7 separate regions of the Homo sapiens genome follow, and regions 1, 3, 4, 5, 6 and 7 are each linked to region 2. Evidence: promoter capture Hi-C in 16 types of primary human blood cells and fetal thymus (Javierre and others, 2016). All regions are on one chromosome and are shown on one strand. Each heading gives the region's core, a stretch centred on a gene start or on the middle of the fragment in contact. The rest is flanking DNA. Distances are from core to core; before and after follow the strand shown.

What was found. Contacts are between HindIII fragments. The CHiCAGO score rates a contact against its expected background, and 5 or more counts as called.
Region 1: a contact is called between the fragment with the promoter of BTBD18 here and the fragment with the promoter of FAM111A in region 2, in 7 of 17 cell types (fetal thymus, non-activated CD4 T cells, total CD8 T cells and 4 more). The highest score is 17.5, in fetal thymus.
Region 3: a contact is called between a fragment that was not itself captured here and the fragment with the promoter of FAM111A in region 2, in 1 of 17 cell types (non-activated CD4 T cells). The highest score is 5.3, in non-activated CD4 T cells.
Region 4: a contact is called between a fragment that was not itself captured here and the fragment with the promoter of FAM111A in region 2, in 1 of 17 cell types (non-activated CD4 T cells). The highest score is 5.5, in non-activated CD4 T cells.
Region 5: a contact is called between a fragment that was not itself captured here and the fragment with the promoter of FAM111A in region 2, in 2 of 17 cell types (fetal thymus and activated CD4 T cells). The highest score is 5.6, in fetal thymus.
Region 6: the fragment with the promoter of MED19 here is called in contact with the fragment with the promoter of FAM111A in region 2 in 5 of 17 cell types (naive CD4 T cells, total CD8 T cells, fetal thymus and 2 more); the score reaches 8.7 in naive CD4 T cells.
Region 7: a fragment that was not itself captured here is called in contact with the fragment with the promoter of FAM111A in region 2 in 1 of 17 cell types (fetal thymus); the score reaches 5.6 in fetal thymus.

What each region holds. Positions count from the first base shown.
Region 1 is chr11:57,750,378-57,753,077 of GRCh38, forward strand. BTBD18 (BTB domain containing 18) reads right to left here and starts at 1,442. Exons shown (of 3, transcript NM_001145101.3): 1 at 1,164-1,442; 2 at 688-859. The coding sequence starts at 811. All of the region lies in intron 2 of TMX2-CTNND1 (TMX2-CTNND1 readthrough (NMD candidate)), which reads left to right. The HindIII fragment of the contact is 11,151 bases long and covers 1-2,224 here.
Region 2 is chr11:59,141,540-59,144,239 of GRCh38, forward strand. FAM111A (FAM111 trypsin like peptidase A) reads left to right here and starts at 1,317. Exons shown (of 6, transcript NM_001312909.2): 1 at 1,317-1,407; 2 at 1,544-1,765; 3 at 1,958-2,156. It overlaps FAM111A-DT (FAM111A divergent transcript), which reads right to left and starts at 1,269. Exons shown (of 4, transcript NR_110184.1): 1 at 1,076-1,269. It also overlaps the pseudogene LOC100422399. RefSeq lists an enhancer at 1,085-1,534. The HindIII fragment of the contact is 3,476 bases long and covers 1-2,700 here.
Region 3 is chr11:57,510,958-57,513,657 of GRCh38, forward strand. The region is part of intron 2 of SLC43A1 (solute carrier family 43 member 1); the gene reads right to left. Among named protein-coding and RNA genes, the nearest start is that of SLC43A1, 3.4 kb to the right of the region's middle. The HindIII fragment of the contact is 1,619 bases long and covers 614-2,232 here.
Region 4 is chr11:57,801,773-57,804,472 of GRCh38, forward strand. CTNND1 (catenin delta 1) reads left to right here. Exons shown (of 21, transcript NM_001085458.2): 7 at 1-424; 8 at 1,849-2,032. It overlaps TMX2-CTNND1 (TMX2-CTNND1 readthrough (NMD candidate)), which reads left to right. Exons shown (of 21, transcript NR_037646.1): 8 at 1-424; 9 at 1,849-2,032. Among named protein-coding and RNA genes, the nearest start is that of CTNND1, 41 kb to the left of the region's middle. The HindIII fragment of the contact is 801 bases long and covers 913-1,713 here.
Region 5 is chr11:57,660,007-57,662,706 of GRCh38, forward strand. CLP1 (cleavage factor polyribonucleotide kinase subunit 1) reads left to right here. Exons shown (of 3, transcript NM_006831.3): 2 at 1-76; 3 at 759-1,859. The coding sequence ends at 1,430. Among named protein-coding and RNA genes, the nearest start is that of CLP1, 3.6 kb to the left of the region's middle. The HindIII fragment of the contact is 2,449 bases long and covers 63-2,511 here.
Region 6 is chr11:57,710,795-57,713,494 of GRCh38, forward strand. It overlaps MED19 (mediator complex subunit 19), which reads right to left and starts at 1,421. Exons shown (of 5, transcript NM_001317078.4): 1 at 1,169-1,421. The coding sequence starts at 1,385. TMX2 (thioredoxin related transmembrane protein 2) reads left to right here and starts at 1,799. Exons shown (of 8, transcript NM_015959.4): 1 at 1,799-2,013. The coding sequence starts at 1,825. It overlaps TMX2-CTNND1 (TMX2-CTNND1 readthrough (NMD candidate)), which reads left to right and starts at 1,729. Exons shown (of 21, transcript NR_037646.1): 1 at 1,729-2,013. RefSeq lists a silencer at 1,052-1,391. The HindIII fragment of the contact is 3,048 bases long and covers 1-2,700 here.
Region 7 is chr11:57,638,815-57,641,514 of GRCh38, forward strand. The region is part of intron 1 of MIR130AHG (MIR130A host gene); the gene reads left to right. It overlaps MIR130A (microRNA 130a), which reads left to right and starts at 2,384; the gene lies at 2,384-2,472. RefSeq lists an enhancer at 602-1,181. The HindIII fragment of the contact is 807 bases long and covers 1,027-1,833 here.

The DNA of each region.
Region 1 (2,700 bases), core at 192-2,691, 1.4 Mb before region 2:
AAAACAAAACAACAACAAAAAAGAAAATGGGAAAAGGGTCGGACGTGGTGGCTCACGCCTATAATCCCAGCACTTTGGCAAGCCCAGGCGGGTGGATCACTTGAGGCCAGGAGTTTGAGACCAGCCTGGCCATCATGGCAAAACCTCATCTCTACTAAAAATACAAAAGTTAGCTGGGCGTAGTGGCGCATGCCTGTAATCTCAGCTACTTGAGAAAGCTAAGGCATGAGAATCACTTGAACCCAGGAGGTGGAGGTTGCAGGTAGCTGTGATTGTGCCACCACACTCCTGCCTGGGCAAGAGAGTGAGACTCTCAAAAAGAAAACATAATAGTATCATCTAACACATATTGTGGTTAGTATATTAAAAGCACTATTCTAAGTGCTTACCCACATTAACTCTTAATCTTCACAACCATCCCATTGGAATATTATCCATGTTATATAGAATGTATCTGCTTATAAAACTTTACAATTAGATTCATTATTTAAGAGAAAGAAGCAAAGTCACAATTTCACTCTTGAAAACAGTAGTAATTGTCCTAGAAACAAACAGCCCTTTACCAAATAGTTTACAGTGGTCATAGGCAGTAATATTTTGCTGATTTTGTCCTTTACCCTCTGGCTCTGAACTCATTTTATCTTATTCTATGGTGAGTTTTCAGTTGAATTCCGACCACTCTCTTACCTTCTGCCTGCAGAAGGACATCACAGAACACATCACTCTGCTGCTGGTGATGAAGCTGCAGAAAAGCTAACCTGAGGAACCGGGGGTTCCTGTATAGGATTTTGGGACTGGCAGGAGAGCACATGTTGGCAAGAGTCTTAACAAACCTTCTAGGTTTTCACAGATCAGACTCCTGTAGGTGAGATAATACATTTCAGAGGCATGGTTACATCTAATTTGTTTTTTGTCTTTGAAATGGCAGGGGAATTTTGAAAGTGAGAGATAATAGTATGAGTTGAGGAAACATCAGCCCAGAAATTGTGCCAAGGATATCTCAAGAAAGAAAATTATCATAGTGGTTACATGTGGGAGCTCAGAGATAAGCCTAGGTTTGGGTCTTGGCTCTATTTATTAGCCTGGCTGTATAATCTCACACAGGTGACCTAACTTCTCTGAGTCTCACTTTCCTATCCATGAAATAGAATAATAGTACTTACCTTGTAGGGTTGTTTTAAAGATTAAATGAGTCAGTGAAGGTAAAGTTGCTTAGCACAGTGAGTGCCTGGCACAAAATAACTACCAAGCCCCAAATGGTAACTATTATTATCCTTCAACCTTCCTCATTTCCATTACCACTGAGACTCAACTGCTACAATGCTGACTACTTATATTCTTCCTGAGCACCACATCCCAGCTCCACAGGTATAATCTTCAAGTTAACACTTTTAAGGAAACATTACTGGGTATAAAATTATCTCTAGTAAGTCGTATGCGCCTTTTCTCTGAGCTCACTGTATCACACTAACCAGCAGAGGGTGCACAATAAAGAAGAGAAGCCTCTGACTCTGCGGGAAGGTCTCTCACAGAACCAAGGACGTTGCCACCCTTGGCTGGGTGTACTTGACCAAAGCGAGCCTGACTGACCCTGGTAGTAGGCAAAGAATTTGGCCTTTACGTTTGTATAGTTAATTACCAGGCTAACAATGCAGCAAGGATAGTAAAGCATTTTACCCCTCCCAAAACAAACTGAGTATTCTGACTTCAGGCTTATGTCCAGCTTTTTAGCTCCGAAACCCCCCCACTCACTGCACAGCTGTGTTCCTTTCCTGGAATGCAGTTTTCTATCAGGTAGCACTGAGGGTCCGAACAGTTCACGTCAAAACTATCAGGAAAGAAGAATGAAAAGGTAAATTAAGAGAAGGCGGGCTTGGCTGGGCGGGGTGGCTCACGCCTGTAATCCCAGCACTTTGGGAGGCCGAGGCGGGTGGATCACCTGAGGTTAGGAGTTTGAGACCAGCCTGGCCAACATGGTGACTCCCCGTCTCTACAAAAATACGAAAATTAGCCGGGCATGGTGGCAGGCGCCTGTAATCTCAGCTACTCAGGAGGCTGAGGTGGGAGAATCGCTTGAACCTGGGAGGCAGAGGTTGTAGATAGAGCCACTGCACTCCAGCCTGGGCGACAGAGCGAGACTCCGTCTCAAAAAAAAAAAAAAAATTCCCATCCCAGTGAGAGAGATGTGGATGGAGGATGGCAGCTGTTGCAAGGGCCCTGGGGAAGCTTCTCAATCCACGATCGCCTGGCCTTGCCTCCAGACCCAACTTGAAATAGCTTTTCGGTAGACTTTGCTCCTGTTGCCTTCTCTGTGCTTGTCCTCTGTCCAGCCTGCCTTGCTTCCTCTCAATGTTCAGCGTTGAGTCAGGAGGCTGAGCAAAGATGCGCAGGTGGGCCAACGGCTGAGTGCTTCACCTCCCCATCCAGAAGCAAGGGAATCGGTGTTGGCGGAGAAAGCAGGGCTTCAGGGAGAGCCCTGCAAAGCGGGGTGGCCCGCACGCTTGGGCGCCCTGGCCCAACTCCTTTGAAGAAAGACTCCTAGGCGCGAGGGTTTCTGGGAATGGACCGTGGGGATCCGGGAGGCCCAAAGTCAGGACTTCCCGTCACGGCCACCTCCGCCAGCATAGACTTTGCAGGCAGCCCCTGGCGCCCTTGTATCCCTGCGGGCTTCAGCACCCACATGCACTGGGTGGTAGTGAT
Region 2 (2,700 bases), core at 67-2,566:
ACAATGGTTGAACTAATTTACACTCCCACCTAGTATATAATCCTTCCTTTTGGAAACAAATTTTATCAGTATATTCAATTCTGAACACCCATGTTTTAGAAAATGTTAAGCCTATTGTCCTTTAATCACTATTTGCTTACACATTAAAATGTAAAACAGGCAAAAGAGAAAGAAGGAAGAAAGGAGGGAGGGAGGGAAGGAGAAAAGTGAGAAAGAAAGAAAGATAAAAGAAAAAAGAAAGAAGAAAGAAAGAAAGAGAAGAAATAAAGAGAAAAAAGAAAGGAAGAAAGGAAGGAAGGAATGAAGAAGAAAAGAAAAAAGAGAAAGAAAGAAGGAAAGAAAAAGAAAAAAAGAAAGAGAAAGAAAGAAAGAAAGAGAAAGAAAGAAAGAGAGAGAGAGAGAGAAAGAGAGAGAAAAGAAAATTTTCTCCAGATTAGAATTATTGGCTGCTATTGTTTGGATGCTGGGTACTAGCTGTGATTACCCTTTGTGAATGTAGGAATGCACAGATTCCAAAAGTGAGTCTCATAGAAAAAGTCAGCATTCAAATATGTTTTAAGGTTACTCTATCCAAACCCCAAAGAACCCACAGAAGATGAAGCAGTAATTTTAGCTTCTCTTGGTGTATTGTACATGCATTTAAGGCCAGTTCCTTCCTTCAAATTCCCATGTGTTTTGTAGTTACCAACACACCTTTCAACCCTATCTGTTTATATACATCATATAGTCCTCTGTCAATTGCATAAAAGTTGTCCCCTTTGTGACTGTAATCGCCTTTTCCAATACACATCTACTCAGAATGCAGGTCCTTAAACAGCAGGCTGCCTTGAAAACCCTCTCCAATCTTCTTCGATCATCAGCTTTGAGATGCATATTCCTAGAGCCCATATCATCTTCTTCATCACTATCATAAACGTCTCCACATATTGATGAACGTTTGGAGAATCGATTTATGACAAGGGAGTTTACTCTTCCTGCATCCGCGGCTTCTTCGTGATTTTGTCCTAGTCACCGGGCCTATCCCACCTGCTGGGGATGCCGCCCCCTCGGAAGTGCCTGAAATCTCCCCACTTACCCAACTAGCCTCAGCGCCTCCTGTGTGCTGCAGCAGATGGCGCGCTGCAGACCCCAGCCTGGTGCCTCCGCGACTCCTCCCCAACCATGATTTACAGGCGGGGACAGCCACATTCCTGCGCCCCAACTTCCACCTCCGCTTCCTGCGCGCGCGAGACTCAAGCTGCCACAGTGGCTCTGCCGCCAGCGTCCCAGCTCCTCCCACACCCGAGTTTTTATTTCCTGCTCCCTCTCCAGCCCGGCCCAGGCCAGCCTACCGGCGACTAGGATGCTTTCGCTTTCGCTCTCGCTTTCCAATACTCGGGACTGGGGAAACCGGGAGAATAGAAGCAGGCAAGGACCGCCGTGGGCACGGGGTCAGTGAGACAGGGTCCTGCTCGCGGCGTCAAGGAGGAGCGCTGTGGGTGGGTAGGGTAGGCGCGCCCCCTCGGCCTTGCCTTTCCAACCACTCTTTTTTGCACGCCAACAGGTGTCCCCAGCGCAGCCAATCGGCTTCCGAAGTAGGTGAGTTGCTGCCTGAAGAGAAAAGACAAACTCCAGTATCTTTCATTCCATTGGCCAGACGCGCCATTCCCCAAGTGAGTTCTGTTCTCCAACCAAAGTGCTGGATTCCAAGGGACTGGAAGGGAAAGTCCCTAAAAATCACGAGTTCAGGCGTCTGAGACTTGGTGGGAACGGACCTTCCTCTTAGGTGAGTTACTCTTTGGTTCTGGGGCTGACCTGGAGTTTTGCCAGGATTCATTGGCCGCAGCAGGATGCTGGTGGGGACAGGGTAAATAAAATCTGCACTCCTGCGGGCTTTTATTGTTGAAAGGGGCACTGACGCTCTCCCTGGAAACTTAAAAAGAACAGCCAAGTGAACGGATGTGTCTTTCTTTTGCAGTGCCCAAGCCTGTTCTAATTTTTAAAAACTGATGTCTATTAAGACCCAATGTTAACTTTATGAAAATGGTTCCTAAGGAGATTCACATCTCTGTGTCCGAATTCTGTGTGCAGCAAACATCATCTCAAGTGCGTTTTCCCAACTACGCTTCTTTCCAGGATAAAATACTCTAAGTGACAAATGTTGAGTACATTATCAGGTATGTTCACTATTGTGAGAACTGAAGCCATCTACACTCACATAGCTTGCCAACTACATTAACCTGACTTCTTATTCCATTATTTTCATCAACATACATTTACTATTTCAAGAAACTTTTGCCAGGGACCGGAAAGTTGCAAATATCTTTATTGCTTAATCCAGTATCTTCTTCAAAGATCCAACCACTCTTCAATGGAAAACATCAAAGAACAGTTTACATTCTAAGACTTTGAACCTTTACCTCAAAATCCTAGCCTTGTTTTATCTACCAATCCTAAACTTTTACCCGTAGCTGACTCAATTCTAACCAATTCCCCTCATTAAATATTAGACTTACAATGGGACTTCAAAATCTCAATACATATAGCCCAAACTTGCTCTTCCCTCTCTGAGACACCACTTAAATTCTGTCAAGTTATTGTTCTCCATTACCTAAGTGAGCAAGAAACTTAGCTTTGTCTTATCAACAGGTTGCTTTGATATTACTGGGAGCCAACATTTGACATTCTTGGAGGCTCCAGCAAGACCTAATCAACCTCCCA
Region 3 (2,700 bases), core at 173-2,672, 1.6 Mb before region 2:
GGCAACAAGAGAGAAATTCTGTCTCAAAAATAAAAAAAAAATTTTTTTAAGAATATGAAATAGTGTAGCCACTTTGGAAAACAATTTGGTAGCTCCTCAAAATGTTAAACATAGTTACCCTTGCAACTGACCAGCAATTCCTAAGAAAAATGAAAGCATACCTCGACATTAAAAACTTTACAAGGGCTAGGCGGGGTGGCTCACACCTATAATCCCAACACTTTGGGAGGCCCAGGAGGGAGGATCACTTGAGCCCAGGAGTTCGAGACCAGTCTCAGCAACATAGCATGACCCAGTCTCTATAAAAAAATTTTTTTTTAATTAGCTGGATGTGTTGATGCGGGCCTGTAGTCCCAACTATTCTGGAGGCTGAGGTGGGAGGATCATTTGAGCCCAGGAGGTTGAAGCTGCAGTGAACTGTGATTGTGCCTCTGCACTCCAGCCTGGGTCACTGAGTGAGAGACCCTGTCTCAAAAAAATTAAAAAAAAAAAGTCCAGAAGAACATTTGGGTCTCACTCTGTGGCCCAGGCTGGAGTATAGTGGCACAATCATAGCTCACTGCACATTCAAACTCCTGGCCTCAAGTGATCCTCCTGCCTTAGCCTTGAAATAAGCTTGGATTACAGATGAGCCACCACACCCAGCCAGACCATTATTCATAATAGCCAAAATGTGAAAACAACCCAAATCTCCATCAACTGACAAATGGATAAATAGAATGGTGGTTGATCCATACAATGGAGTATTTACTCAGCAATAAAAAGAAGTCCTGATACATGCTACAAGGATGAACCTCAAAAACATTATGCTAAGTGAAAGCAGCCAATCACAAAAGGCTACATATTACAAGATTCCATTTAAATGAAATGTTCAGAATAGGTAAATCTAACTTTTATCACAGGCAAAGCTATGACAGGAAATAGATGAGTGGTTGCCTAGTGCTTGGGGGCAGAGGTGGGGGTGAGGCGAGTGAGTACTGCTAATGGTACAGAGTTACTTTTGGGGATAAAGAAACTGTTCTGAAATGGACTCTGGTGATGGTTGCACTACTCTGAACATACTAAAACTGTTAAATTATATACTTGAAATGGGTGACTTGTGAGGCATGGAAATTATATCTTAATAAAGCTGTTTTACATATTTTACATATTTAAAAATGCAGGTGGAGGGATGAGCCCTCTAAAGAGAAGCAGGAGTTTGAGGAGGTTCTAAATATTGTGTGGTGGGTACTGAGGCATATAAATTTGTCAGACCTCATCAAAATGTATGATGTAATCTTCAAGAAAGTTGATTTTAAAGAAACACCACCAGCACCAGGTGGAGAAGGCAGGAAGAAGTTACACAAGGGGTAGGCCAAGAGTGGTGGCTCATGTCTATAATCCCAGCACTGCGGGAGGCCGAGCCGGGTGGGTGACTTGAGGTCAGGTGTTCGAGACCAGCCTGGCCAACATGGTGAAAGCCCGTCTCTACTAAAAATACAAAAATTAGCCAGACGTGCTCGCGTGAACCCAGGGGGAGAAGGTTGCAGTGAGCGAAGATCATGCCAATGCACTCCAGCCTGGGTGACAGAGTGAGACTCTGTCTCAAAAAAAAAAAAAAAAGTTACATAGGGGACAGTGGCAGGTGTCAAGGGCAGGCAGGGTCTCTCCTATCTCCAGGATAAACTCATAGGGGACTTAGATGCCATGTGGGTCCCTAATAGCCCTCCACTTGGTTCTTGCAGCCACTCTTATGTGTATCATTTCATGTCAGGCCTCTTCTTCCCAACCCACCCAGCCATCCCAGCCTGGCTGCCAACCCCACCTCCTCCAGCCCCTGTCACCCCATAATTGGGGCCAGGAGGCATGGGAGAGTCGCCATCTCTCGGTGCCATCTGTTGCATCTTTACAGATAACCATGGCTGGATGCGGCAGATCCTGGGGTGGAGCAGCCGCTGTTCAGAGCAGTGATCAAGACCTCCCCATCTCCACCCCTCAAGGAATCGGTTTTCTTCCATAGCCACATCAGGTGCTGTGCAGGAAGGAGTTGAAACGAGAAGCCAGGAGCAACGAGAAGGACACTAACATTTATTAAGCACTGCAGACTCTCACAGCACTCCCACGGAATCGATATTATTATCCCCATTCTGAAGACCAGGCAACTGAAGCTCAATGTTTAAGGAACTCACCGAAGTCACCAACTGATAAAAGTGATGGAAGCTGGGATTCAAATCCAAGCTAAACTTCCTTCCAAGCTTACTCCACAACACAGAGGTTGGGGAAAGGGGATAAAAAGAGAGGGGAGCCCAATTCCATTTCCACCCAGCTCCTGAGGCGGAGCTTGTCAGCACAGCTCTCTCCTTCCCAGAATAGGAAGATACCCATCAGAGGCAAGTCCTAGACACCAGCAGTGGTAACTCCCTGCCCCAAGGCAGCTGCAGACAGCCTATGGCTGTAGTTACTGCTCCCAAAGAGTGTTAGAATTCCCACTCCCAGCTTCGGGGCCACTCACACAAGGTGATTGAAGTGGAAACCAGAGACTCTCCACAATGCCCTCCTAGAGTAAATGAGGCTATGTAACTTTGTCCAAATGAGTAATTTGAAAACCTGGGGGCTCCCAGCTCCTGAAAAGGGAAGGATGTGGGGCCCTTTATATTCATACTCCACTTTGTGCAGCTCTCCCTTGTCTTATGATAGCCCTATTAAGAAATTCCTCTCCCA
Region 4 (2,700 bases), core at 63-2,562, 1.3 Mb before region 2:
CAATACTACTGGGCTCCTTTGGCCCAGCATGAGCGAGGAAGTTTAGCAAGCTTGGATAGCCTGCGCAAAGGAGGGCCTCCACCTCCTAATTGGAGACAGCCAGAGCTGCCAGAGGTGATCGCCATGCTTGGATTCCGCTTGGATGCTGTCAAGTCCAATGCAGCTGCATACCTGCAACACTTATGCTACCGCAATGACAAGGTGAAGACTGACGTGCGGAAGCTCAAGGGCATCCCAGTACTGGTGGGATTGTTAGACCATCCCAAAAAGGAAGTGCACCTTGGAGCCTGTGGAGCTCTCAAGAATATCTCTTTTGGACGTGACCAGGATAACAAGATTGCCATAAAAAACTGTGATGGTGTGCCTGCCCTTGTGCGATTGCTTCGAAAGGCTCGTGATATGGACCTTACTGAAGTTATTACCGGTGAGTTCTAGGCCTAAGGAAAATTGCTAAGTCAGTGTTACTCTCTAGTGATGTTGAGAACTAGAGGGATTTCCAGACCTTTTACTTTTGATGAAAGGTTGTGAACTGGTGGCTGTGGGTCAAATCCATCTCACAGATTTGTTTGGATCACACAGCATTATTGAAATTTTAAAGAACTGGTTGCTGATGTTTAAAATTCAGAAGATTTCACTTAAAATTCCAGATTCTTGGCTTCTATTAAAAACGTGGAAGAGTTGTTAACAATGGATCTCTTTTCTTCCTTAGCAGTATTTGGTCTGAACTGATTGGAGCATGTGCTCTCTAATTTACACTAATCTCCAACACATTCTATTATCTGACCAACTACAGCTGTTTAGGAAGTTGTTTCCCAAACATGGAGCTGTCAACTGCTATTTTTTCACATGCTTGTAATTTCTTTTAATTATCTTCCTCTCTTGACTCACCGGCTTGACCCATATAGACATTTAAGCTTGTGGTTCTTGCTTTATTTAGAGCAGTAGTTTTTCAGATTGTGGGTTGTGATCTATTTGTGTGATCCGTTAGTGAATAAAACAAAATTTTGTGGAGCATAATCAGCATTCCAAGGGAAAGGAATAAAGAAAAAGTAGTATAGACCATTGTTTCTCAGTTGTGGGCCATTTTGCCTGCCCTGCCCTGAGGACATTTGGACATTTGCAGTGTTGGAGATATTTTTGGTTGTTATAACTTGGAACAGGGGAGAGGGAGTGCTACTGGCATCTAGTGAGTAAAGGCCAGGGGTACTGGTAAACATCCAACAATAGACAAGACAGCTCCTCATAACAAAGAATCATCTGGCCGAAAATGTCAGTGGTGCTGAGGTTGAAAAACTCTGGTATAGACAGATCGGAGAGCATTGAGCATTGCTTATAGTTTTGTTTGTTTTTTTTGAGATGGAGTCTCGCTCTGTCACCCAGGCTGGAGTGCAGTGGCACAATCTCAGCTCACCGCAAGCTCCGCCTCATGGGTTCACGCCATTCTCCTGCCTCAGCCTCCCAAGTAGCTGGGACTACAGGTGCCCGCCACCACGCCCGGCTAATTTTTTGTATTTTTAGTGTTAGCCAGGATGGTCTTGATCTCCCAACCTTGTGATCCGCCCGCCTTGGCCTCCCAAATTGCTGGGATTACAGGCGTGAGCCACCACACCCAGCCTGAGCGTTGCTTATAGTTAAACATTGTTTGTTTCATGATCTGTATGTTTATTTTGAGCTATAATGTAGAATATGTTTCTTGGTGAGGGTCGCAAACAAAGCTTGAATATTACTATAAGGTATTTGGTCACTGGGGAAGACTGAGAAGTGATACGATAGGGGGATTCTCTTTGACGTTCTTCAGACATATTGTCTTGAATGCTCAAGAGCCATCTGATGAATTGTCTCTTCCAGGAACCCTGTGGAATCTTTCATCCCATGACTCAATCAAAATGGAGATTGTGGACCATGCACTGCATGCCTTGACAGATGAAGTGATCATTCCTCATTCTGGTTGGGAGCGGGAACCTAATGAAGACTGTAAGCCACGCCACATTGAGTGGGAATCGGTGCTCACCAACACAGCTGGCTGCCTTAGGTAACAGTAGGGACTTTGAGAATATGAAGATGAATTTTTGAGGACTGACTTAAATTTCCTAAAAAAAAAAAAAAATTAAAATTCTTTAGCCTATTCTTTAGCCTCCATTCCTATCTGTATTGCATACTGTAACTCCAACCTTTCTATCTTTGTTGCTATTCTCTCATGTATACCACATGTACCTATATCAGTTTTCTTGCTGTTCCCCACACATCCTCTTCACTTTTATGCCTCTTTGACTTTGTTCATCTACTTTGGTAAGCTTTTGTTCAGCATCTACCACATGTAAGGTGGTCTAGTCCTGGACTTGTGTGTGTCTATGTCCTTGCCCTAGTTATTTGTATTTCAAGTCAGGCTGTGATAAATTCAGCAAAAGGGGTACAGAGTACTAGGAGGTTAGGGCATGGGTGAGGAAGGTCTGTTCTTTCTGTGATGCCTTTCTCTTCTTATTTATCTTTTTGTGGTTAAACTCAAGTGCCTTTATTTTATTAAAGTTTTCCTGAATTCTTTTTATATCCTATAAATGCTGCTATATAATCTTTCTCTCTTTGGAATACACCTCTGTGTGCTGTGTTCCATTCTACATATGTATTATATACTTCCATACGAGAAGTATATATTCCATCTTGAATTACTGCATCTGGTACATATCATTAATCCCTACCCCA
Region 5 (2,700 bases), core at 37-2,536, 1.5 Mb before region 2:
TTTCTCTATCCAGGCCCCTCTGGTGTATCATTTTGGTTCCACCACTCCTGGCACTAACATCAAGCTTTATAATAAGGTCAGAGCCAGAGAAAGGTGGGGTGGAGGGAAGGGCTGCTATCAGGGTAGGAAACTGGAGAAGTTTACTAGTTAACACTGCATTTTCTCAGCTGGTATTTCTGCTGCATTACTTTAGAAAGGCAATTCCAAATATGTCAGTCTCAGATTGTTAAACATTTCTGTGGATCTATTCTTAGTAATTTGTTAGATTTTCACTTAGGGCATAAAACAGGAGGCAGAAGCAGCAACATAAAAATTAAATCCATGTTATGGTATCAAAACTACAGCCATTAAAAATGTCATTTTTTCAGGCTGGGTACAGTGGCTCATGCCTGTAATCCCACAACTTGGGAGGCTGAGACGGGTGGATCACCTGAGGTCAGGAGTTGGAGAGCAGCCTGGCCAACATGGTGAAACCTTGTCTCTACTAAAAATACAAAAAGTAGCTGGGCGTGGTGGCTGGTGCCTGTAATCCCAGCTGTTCAGAGACTGAGGCAGGAGAATCACTTGAACGCGGGAGGTGGAGGTTGCAGTGAGCTGAGATCGTGCCACTGCACTCCATCCTGGGCAACAGAGTGAGACTCCATTTCAAAAAAAAAATCATTTTTCTTATATCTAATAGCACTTATTCTAAAGAGGAACAAAGTAGCCATGGGTTTGTCTGGGTGTTTTTGTTCTTACCTTGATCCTCTCTTTTGCAGATTACATCTCGTTTAGCAGATGTGTTCAACCAAAGGTGTGAGGTGAACCGAAGGGCATCTGTGAGTGGCTGTGTCATTAACACCTGTGGCTGGGTCAAGGGCTCTGGTTACCAGGCTCTGGTGCATGCAGCCTCAGCTTTTGAGGTGGATGTCGTTGTTGTTCTGGATCAAGAACGACTGTACAATGAACTGAAACGGGACCTCCCCCACTTTGTACGCACTGTGCTGCTCCCTAAATCTGGGGGTGTGGTGGAGCGCTCCAAGGACTTCCGGCGGGAATGTAGGGATGAGCGTATCCGTGAGTATTTTTATGGATTCCGAGGCTGTTTCTATCCCCATGCCTTCAATGTCAAATTTTCAGATGTGAAAATCTACAAAGTTGGGGCACCCACCATCCCAGACTCCTGTTTACCTTTGGGCATGTCTCAAGAGGATAATCAGCTCAAGCTAGTACCTGTCACTCCTGGGCGAGATATGGTGCACCACCTACTGAGTGTTAGCACTGCCGAGGGTACAGAGGAGAACCTGTCCGAGACAAGTGTAGCTGGCTTCATTGTGGTGACCAGTGTGGACCTGGAGCATCAGGTGTTTACTGTTCTGTCTCCAGCCCCTCGCCCACTGCCTAAGAACTTCCTTCTCATCATGGATATCCGGTTCATGGATCTGAAGTAGAGATCAGCAGGAAGCCTTGCTGCCTGGGACATAGAGATCATCTGGCCACCCCTAGAGGCAGATGGGCTGAGATAAAAGACTGTTGGGGCCACCTGACCAGTAAACTGTGGACTAGTAGAAAGTTCATATTCTACCTCTAAAAACAGGTAGTGGTAACCTGACTCTTCTAATCTTGAACCAAAAGGAAAACCATGAGACTGTAATTGGTTTCTTAGACCACCTAAGATGCCACTTTGAATTCTCTAAGACCCTGGAGAATTGCATTTCTTTCACTGTGCTACTATGTGGTTTTTAAAAAATCAATGCTTTATATTCCATATGTGGTTCTTACCCATTTATCTAGGATGAAAGTGTGAATTAGAGGGACTCCTTCCAATAAAGTTCAAACTTAAAAAAAATCATTTTAATAAATATTTTTGCCATATCATAGAAGTTGGTATAATTTATTTTTTTCCCCTAAGCGTTATAGAAACATAATTGGAATGATTTATTGCTAAAATGCTTGGAGGAGGGGAAAACCAAGAAACCTACCTGTGAGCCACGTCAGGTTTTTTTTTTTGGTGGTGGTGGTGGTTGTTTTTGTAAGAGTCTCACACTGTCACCTGGGCTGGAGTGCAGTGGCGTGATCTTGGCTCACTGCAACCTCTGCCTCCCAGGTTCAAGTGATTCTCCTGCCTCAGCCTCCCAAATAGCTGGGGTTACAGGTGCCCGCCACCACGCCCAGCTAATTTTTTGTATTTCTTTTAGTAGGGACAGGGTTTCACTATGTTGGCCAGGCTGGTCTCAAACTCCTGACCTCATGATCTGCCTGCCTCGGCCTCCCAAAATGCTGGGATTACAGGTGTGAGACACTGTGCCCGGCTGTGAGTTCTTATGATAGTTCACCTTTCCTCTGCGCTTAGGTAAGTAGATGGTAAATCTGCTGTCAGTGCTGGATTTACTGTGGGGAGTTAGAGGCTGGTGATAATCTTGGAATGAGATTTCATATCTAATCATTTTCCAGAGATAGCTCATTTTCCTTCCAGTACAGCTATCCTTGTCTATTTGATTGGAACTAGGCCCTAAGTCAAAGTGTAACTTAAGCTTTCAGGTGGTAAGAAACTGGGAAAGCCCATTCTTTTTGATCTCTTGCAAATGACTGTTTGGTGTCCCTGGTTTGCACTTGGATTACTTAAGTATCTGATGCCATTCATCCATTCCTTCTTTTCATAAATGTTTACTGAGGACTGACTGTTTGTCAGGAGCCACTGTAGATGGGGAACAAGACAGA
Region 6 (2,700 bases), core at 171-2,670, 1.4 Mb before region 2:
AAGCGATTCTCCTCCCTTAGCCTCCTGAGTAGCTGGGGCTACAGGCATGCATTACCACGCCCGGTTAATCTTGTATATTTTGTAGAGACTGGGTCTCGCCATGTTGCCCATGCTGGTCTCAAACTCCTGGGCTCAAGGGATTCTGCCTCGGCCTCCCAAAGCGCTGGGATTACAGGCGTGAGCAACGCGCCTGGCCACCTTCAATTTTTATCATGTTTTCTTTTCCTAGCATTAACCACTTTCTGACATTATCTTGTTTACAATGCCTCCTCCACTGAAATGTACATCCCAAAAAAGGCAAGCATCTTGTCAGTCTTGTTCACAACTGTCTCCAGCATTTAGAAAAGTGCTTGGTACATAGGTACTCAACAAAATAATTTTTTGAATGAAGAGTTTGGTTCGATTCTTATCCCTTTTTTGATCAGACCAGGAAATGCCGGAACCTTAGAAGGAAGAATGGCAACTTGCCCCAAACCAATAGCAAGTCTGTGGGAGACCTGTAACTAAAACTTTGGGTCCCCAAAGATATTAAATCAGGCCTCTCGAGTTCCAAACTCAAACCCTGGATTTTGTTTGTTTTGAGACGGAGTCTCGTTCGCCCAGGCTGGAGTGCAGTGGAGCAATGTCGGCTCTCTGCAACCTCCGCCTCCCGGGGTTCAAACGATTCTCCCGCCTCAGCCTCCCGAGTAGCTGGAATTAAAGGTATACGCCACCACGCCCAGGTAATTTTTGTGTTTTTTGTGGAGACAGGGTTTCATCATGTTGGCCAGGCCGGTCTCGAACTCCTGACCTTAGGTGATTCGCCCGCCTCCGCCTCCCAGAGTGTTGGGATTACAGGCGTGAGCCACCGCGCCCAGCCCTAGGTCATTTTTTAGAGAGACATAAACCAGTGTCAGGGACACAGCCTGGACATGGTGCAAAAGACAGTAACGGAGATGCACTACGCCCCTGCCCGCCATTCATCCCTTTGGTTGAATTCAACTCATCCTGGTTGAATTCAAGTCATCCCTCTGCTTGTGAATCCTAACAGCGCTTCCGACTTAGGGCTCCACAGTCCGGGTATGCGTTGCCTAGGTTACCTCGCACCTCCGCTAGCCGGCTGAGAGCCACGCCCATCACCTCCTCTCTAAGATTTGATTGGCTGGCTTTGGCAAGGCCGAGTACTCACCTGGCAGTTCCCTCATGAGGTAAAAAGGGCCACAGCCAGCTCCTGACTTGTCCGCGCCAGGAGGAGCCGTGGCCGCGGTGGGAGGCGGGGCCGTGCCGGGTCCCCCGCCCGCAGGAGGCGGTGGCGGGGGTGGAGGCTTTCCTGGTCCGAAGCCGAGTGCGGTTGGGGGCGGTGGTGGGTCAGCCTGAGCCCCAAACAGTGCCGTGAAATTCTCCATCGTACCCTCCGCCCCGGCGCTGTCTCCGTGTCTGCCGTTGGTAATTTTCATTGGACAATGCTTTCAAGGAGTACCCCCCCGCCCTTTCTCAAGGAGCCGCTTGTCATTGGATGCCTCAGGCACCGCCTACCTTTTTTCAACAACTACTTCCGTCGCCTTATGAGAACGTTCAGGAAGTGCTATTTAACCTTATTAGAGTCTTCTGCTAGCTCTGCTTGCTACAGTCCAATAAAATGACTTAGGCGGATAAAGCGACAACTAGACTAACCAATAAAATATTAAGTTCTTTTTTGGGTTCTGACCTACCACAGCGTTCAGAGAACTACATCCGGGTTTAGAGGCCGTACGTTTGCGATATAGCCCAATAGCAGTCGTTATGGTGGGGGAGGCGGGGCGAGACCTACGACGCCGGCGAGCAGTGGCCGTTACGGCCGAAAAGATGGCGGTCTTGGCACCTCTAATTGCTCTCGTGTATTCGGTGCCGCGACTTTCACGATGGCTCGCCCAACCTTACTACCTTCTGTCGGCCCTGCTCTCTGCTGCCTTCCTACTCGTGAGGAAACTGCCGCCGCTCTGCCACGGTCTGCCCACCCAACGCGAAGACGGTAACCCGTGTGACTTTGACTGGGTGAGCCTCCCGCGTGTTAGTACCCCGCGACCTTGACTGTCCCTGCCCTTGCAGGTGTATCTGGGAACCCTGGGGTTTACCTCTCTGAGGACACCTGAGGTTCCGAGCCTGTAGCGGACTTAGAGACTATTAAGTGCAGGGTCCGAACCATCATCGAGTCTAAACTTTGTGTTTAAGATGGGAAAACGGAACATGTTAGTCGTAGCCCATGCACAACGGCCCAACAGCTTTTGACTGTTGAGTCCAGGTTTCTTTCTGTTTCACCATTGAGACTAATTAACAGCCCTATCAAAACTGTACATACACGTGTATAACGTTTTACAGTGCCGCTCATTATGTAAAGCCTCCTGAGGAGCCAGTAAGGTAGACAAGGCAAGTAGTAATATTCCTGTTTCATTGGTGAAGAAATGGATCTCGGTATATTTAGGTGACTTGCCCCAGGTCATACAACTAATGAGTGCCTGGGACTTGAAACTACTCTTCTGGCCACACTACCTGCACAACACTGTCAGCCGCTTCTTAATTCAATAAACATTTCTAGAGTGTACACTCTAGGCACTCTGCTTGATCCTGAAGATGCGAAAGTGGATAAAATTTGGGGGCTACTGTAAAGGAATTGTAAAAAATACGTTGTAAAGAAATCTTTGGGATTTCTTTGGGAAGTGTCCCAAGCTCCTTGCTGTGCTT
Region 7 (2,700 bases), core at 180-2,679, 1.5 Mb before region 2:
TTTTTTCCTTTGGAAACACTGTAACTGGGAAGCACCAGGCGTGTCTTTCTGAGGTGGCCTCACTGTCATTTTCCAGTGGGGGGCGTGGTGGGGTAGGGATGGGGGGCTCCGCTGGGCACGGCCGAGCTGGGCCATCTGTCTCCACCTGGGTTGTGTGCGAGGGCGTGGAGTGTTCCGAGGGGGACCGGGGGCCGAAGGGCTGGAGCAGGGCAGGGAGTTCTGCACCTCCAGAAGTTGTAGGGTGAGCCAGGGGCGGTGTGGGGGTGTGAGGCTGGTTTTCGAGCTGATAGTTGTGGGGTGTTGAGGGGTGCGGGGATGTGTGTGTGTGGGGGGCGTGCGCTCACACTCCAGTTCTTGTTGTTTGGGTGTGTAATGAGGGCTGAGTTGTGCAGCAAGTATGGCTGAGAGTTTGTGTGTGTGTGTGTGTGTGTGTGTGGTGTGTACGTGCGCCTGTGTGGTCCAGCCTCGAGGTGTGTGTGTTCGGGGGGAGCACAGTTGGGTGTTGAAGGAGAGCGCCCCTCACCCCCCACTTCCCAGCTGCCTCTCTCATCCCATTCACAGAACATGGCTTTCAGGACCCTCCTGGTCTCCTCCTCCCGTCGCCATGGCTGCGAGGAGGGGGTGGGAGGAGACAGTTGGGGCCAGCCCCCTGCCCCTGCTGCTCCAGCTAACCCCCCACCTGCCCTTTCTCTCCCTTTCACAGGCTGGGCCCCATCCCCTGCTGCTCTGGGGGCAGGGGCCGGAAGATGGTGGCCAATGAGGAGGGGGAGAGGAGAGAACTTGAGCCGGGGCCTCCCCTCCCCCATTTCCTCCTCGGTCTCTACACTCGCTTCTGGAAGGAGCTGGGGGCTGGCTCCTGGGCCCAAGGTGGGGGAGGGGTCCTGCTGGCTGGTGAGTCGCTGGGCCTGCTCCTCAGGAATGAGTTGGGTGTGTGAGAGCTGAGGGGCTCTTGGCCCTTTCTCCCTGCACTCCCTAAGGAGAGACCTGGAAACTTCTTGGGGAAGAATCTTCCCCTGGCCTCCCTGAAGCTTGCTGTGCAGCCTTATCTTTGCCCCTCTGCCCCCTGTTGGTGTGATCCAGTTCCCAGCTGGGCCTGGTTTGCCCAACCCCAGAGCAGAGAGGTCACTGACCCTCGAGGGGTCTTGGTTTCCGCCCATTAAAACTGTAGGGCAGGGCCCCATGTTTGCAGATTACGGGAACAAACTCTGCCGGGGAGAGCGGGAGGGAACGTCTCCTGCTTCCTGAGGGGGTGGGACGAGGCTAGAGGGAAGCCCAGAGGAAGAGCTCCCAACTGGAATTCTGTCCTCTATTCCTTACGGTGGCTGTGGATTAGGGAAGAAGGCATCTCCCCTTCGTTGATCGGGGCACTGGAGGAATCACCCTCCAGCCTCTGTTTCTCTGGGCTGCCCAAAGTTCACTGGGTCAGAACTGGAGCTGGGCTCCGGGGCTGTGGCCCTAGCTGGAATGTGCCACAATAGAGCCTGCCTGGGTCTGAGCCTCCAGATATCCAGGTGTCCTTCCAGGGCAGCTTTCTGGCTTTGGGTGTTAATCTTCCGGGGACTGTTTGTCCTGTATTTAAGCCCCCTTAGGGTTGGATAGGATGGGGAAGTGCTAGGATGAGCTTGAAGACTCCCCAACCAAGGGTCCCTGGATAAGACAGGAAATAACTCAGATGTGAATCCCACTGCCAGTGAAAGCCTATCCCTAACTCTCAGTAACTGTGAGCGAATCACCCTCACCATTTTAATGCTGAATCTGCAAAGTGCTTTCAGGACCTCCAAAAGGAGATGCAGGGGTGGGGCTTCACCAGCAGCTTTCACCTCCCCGCCTGGAAGCTTCTCTCTACTGCGTGGGGAGCTGTGACTACAGGCTCCCACCTCTCTGGTCCTGGAAGGTCATCTGAGAGTGTTGCCTTGAGGCCTAGAGCTCTGCTTTATCTAAATTTAAAAGGAGATGGAAACTTAGAGAAGAGTAGAGGGTTCTGTAGTCTTGGGCAGCAAGCTCCTCTCTAGAAGGTAAGCTAGCGGAAATGCAAATCCAGATGAACACAGCCTCATACGAGTGACCTCCAGACTTTGGGGATTGCTAATAGCCGTTTTCTTTGAGGACTGAGCATCAAGCCCGAAGTATCCCTGCAGCTGCTTTAGTGGGTCCTGTCCTCCCATGCCAAAACCTCCAAGAAAAAGGTGGTCTCTGTGCTGGGGGTCAGGGGGTTGGTGAAGAAGGCGGCAAAAGGAAGAGTGGTGAAAAAATAGAATGAACACTAAGAATGGAATAAAAGGGAAAAAAGCTGTATTGAAGCAAAGAAGGGGCAGAGGGAGCCCGTGAGCTGAGTGGGCCAGGGACTGGGAGAAGGAGTGAGGAGGCAGGGCCGGCATGCCTCTGCTGCTGGCCAGAGCTCTTTTCACATTGTGCTACTGTCTGCACCTGTCACTAGCAGTGCAATGTTAAAAGGGCATTGGCCGTGTAGTGCTACCCAGCGCTGGCTGCCTCCTCAGCATTGCAATTCCTCTCCCATCTGGGCACCAGTCAGCTACCCTGGTGGGAATCTGGGTAGCCTCACTTGTTAGTTATACTAATAGCTCTCATTTATGGAACTACTTCTGTATGCAGTGCTTGTGATAGACACTGCCTCCGTTACTGTGAAACCTAATAACTTCTGGGAGGTAACAGCCCCATTTTATGGATGAAAAACTGAGG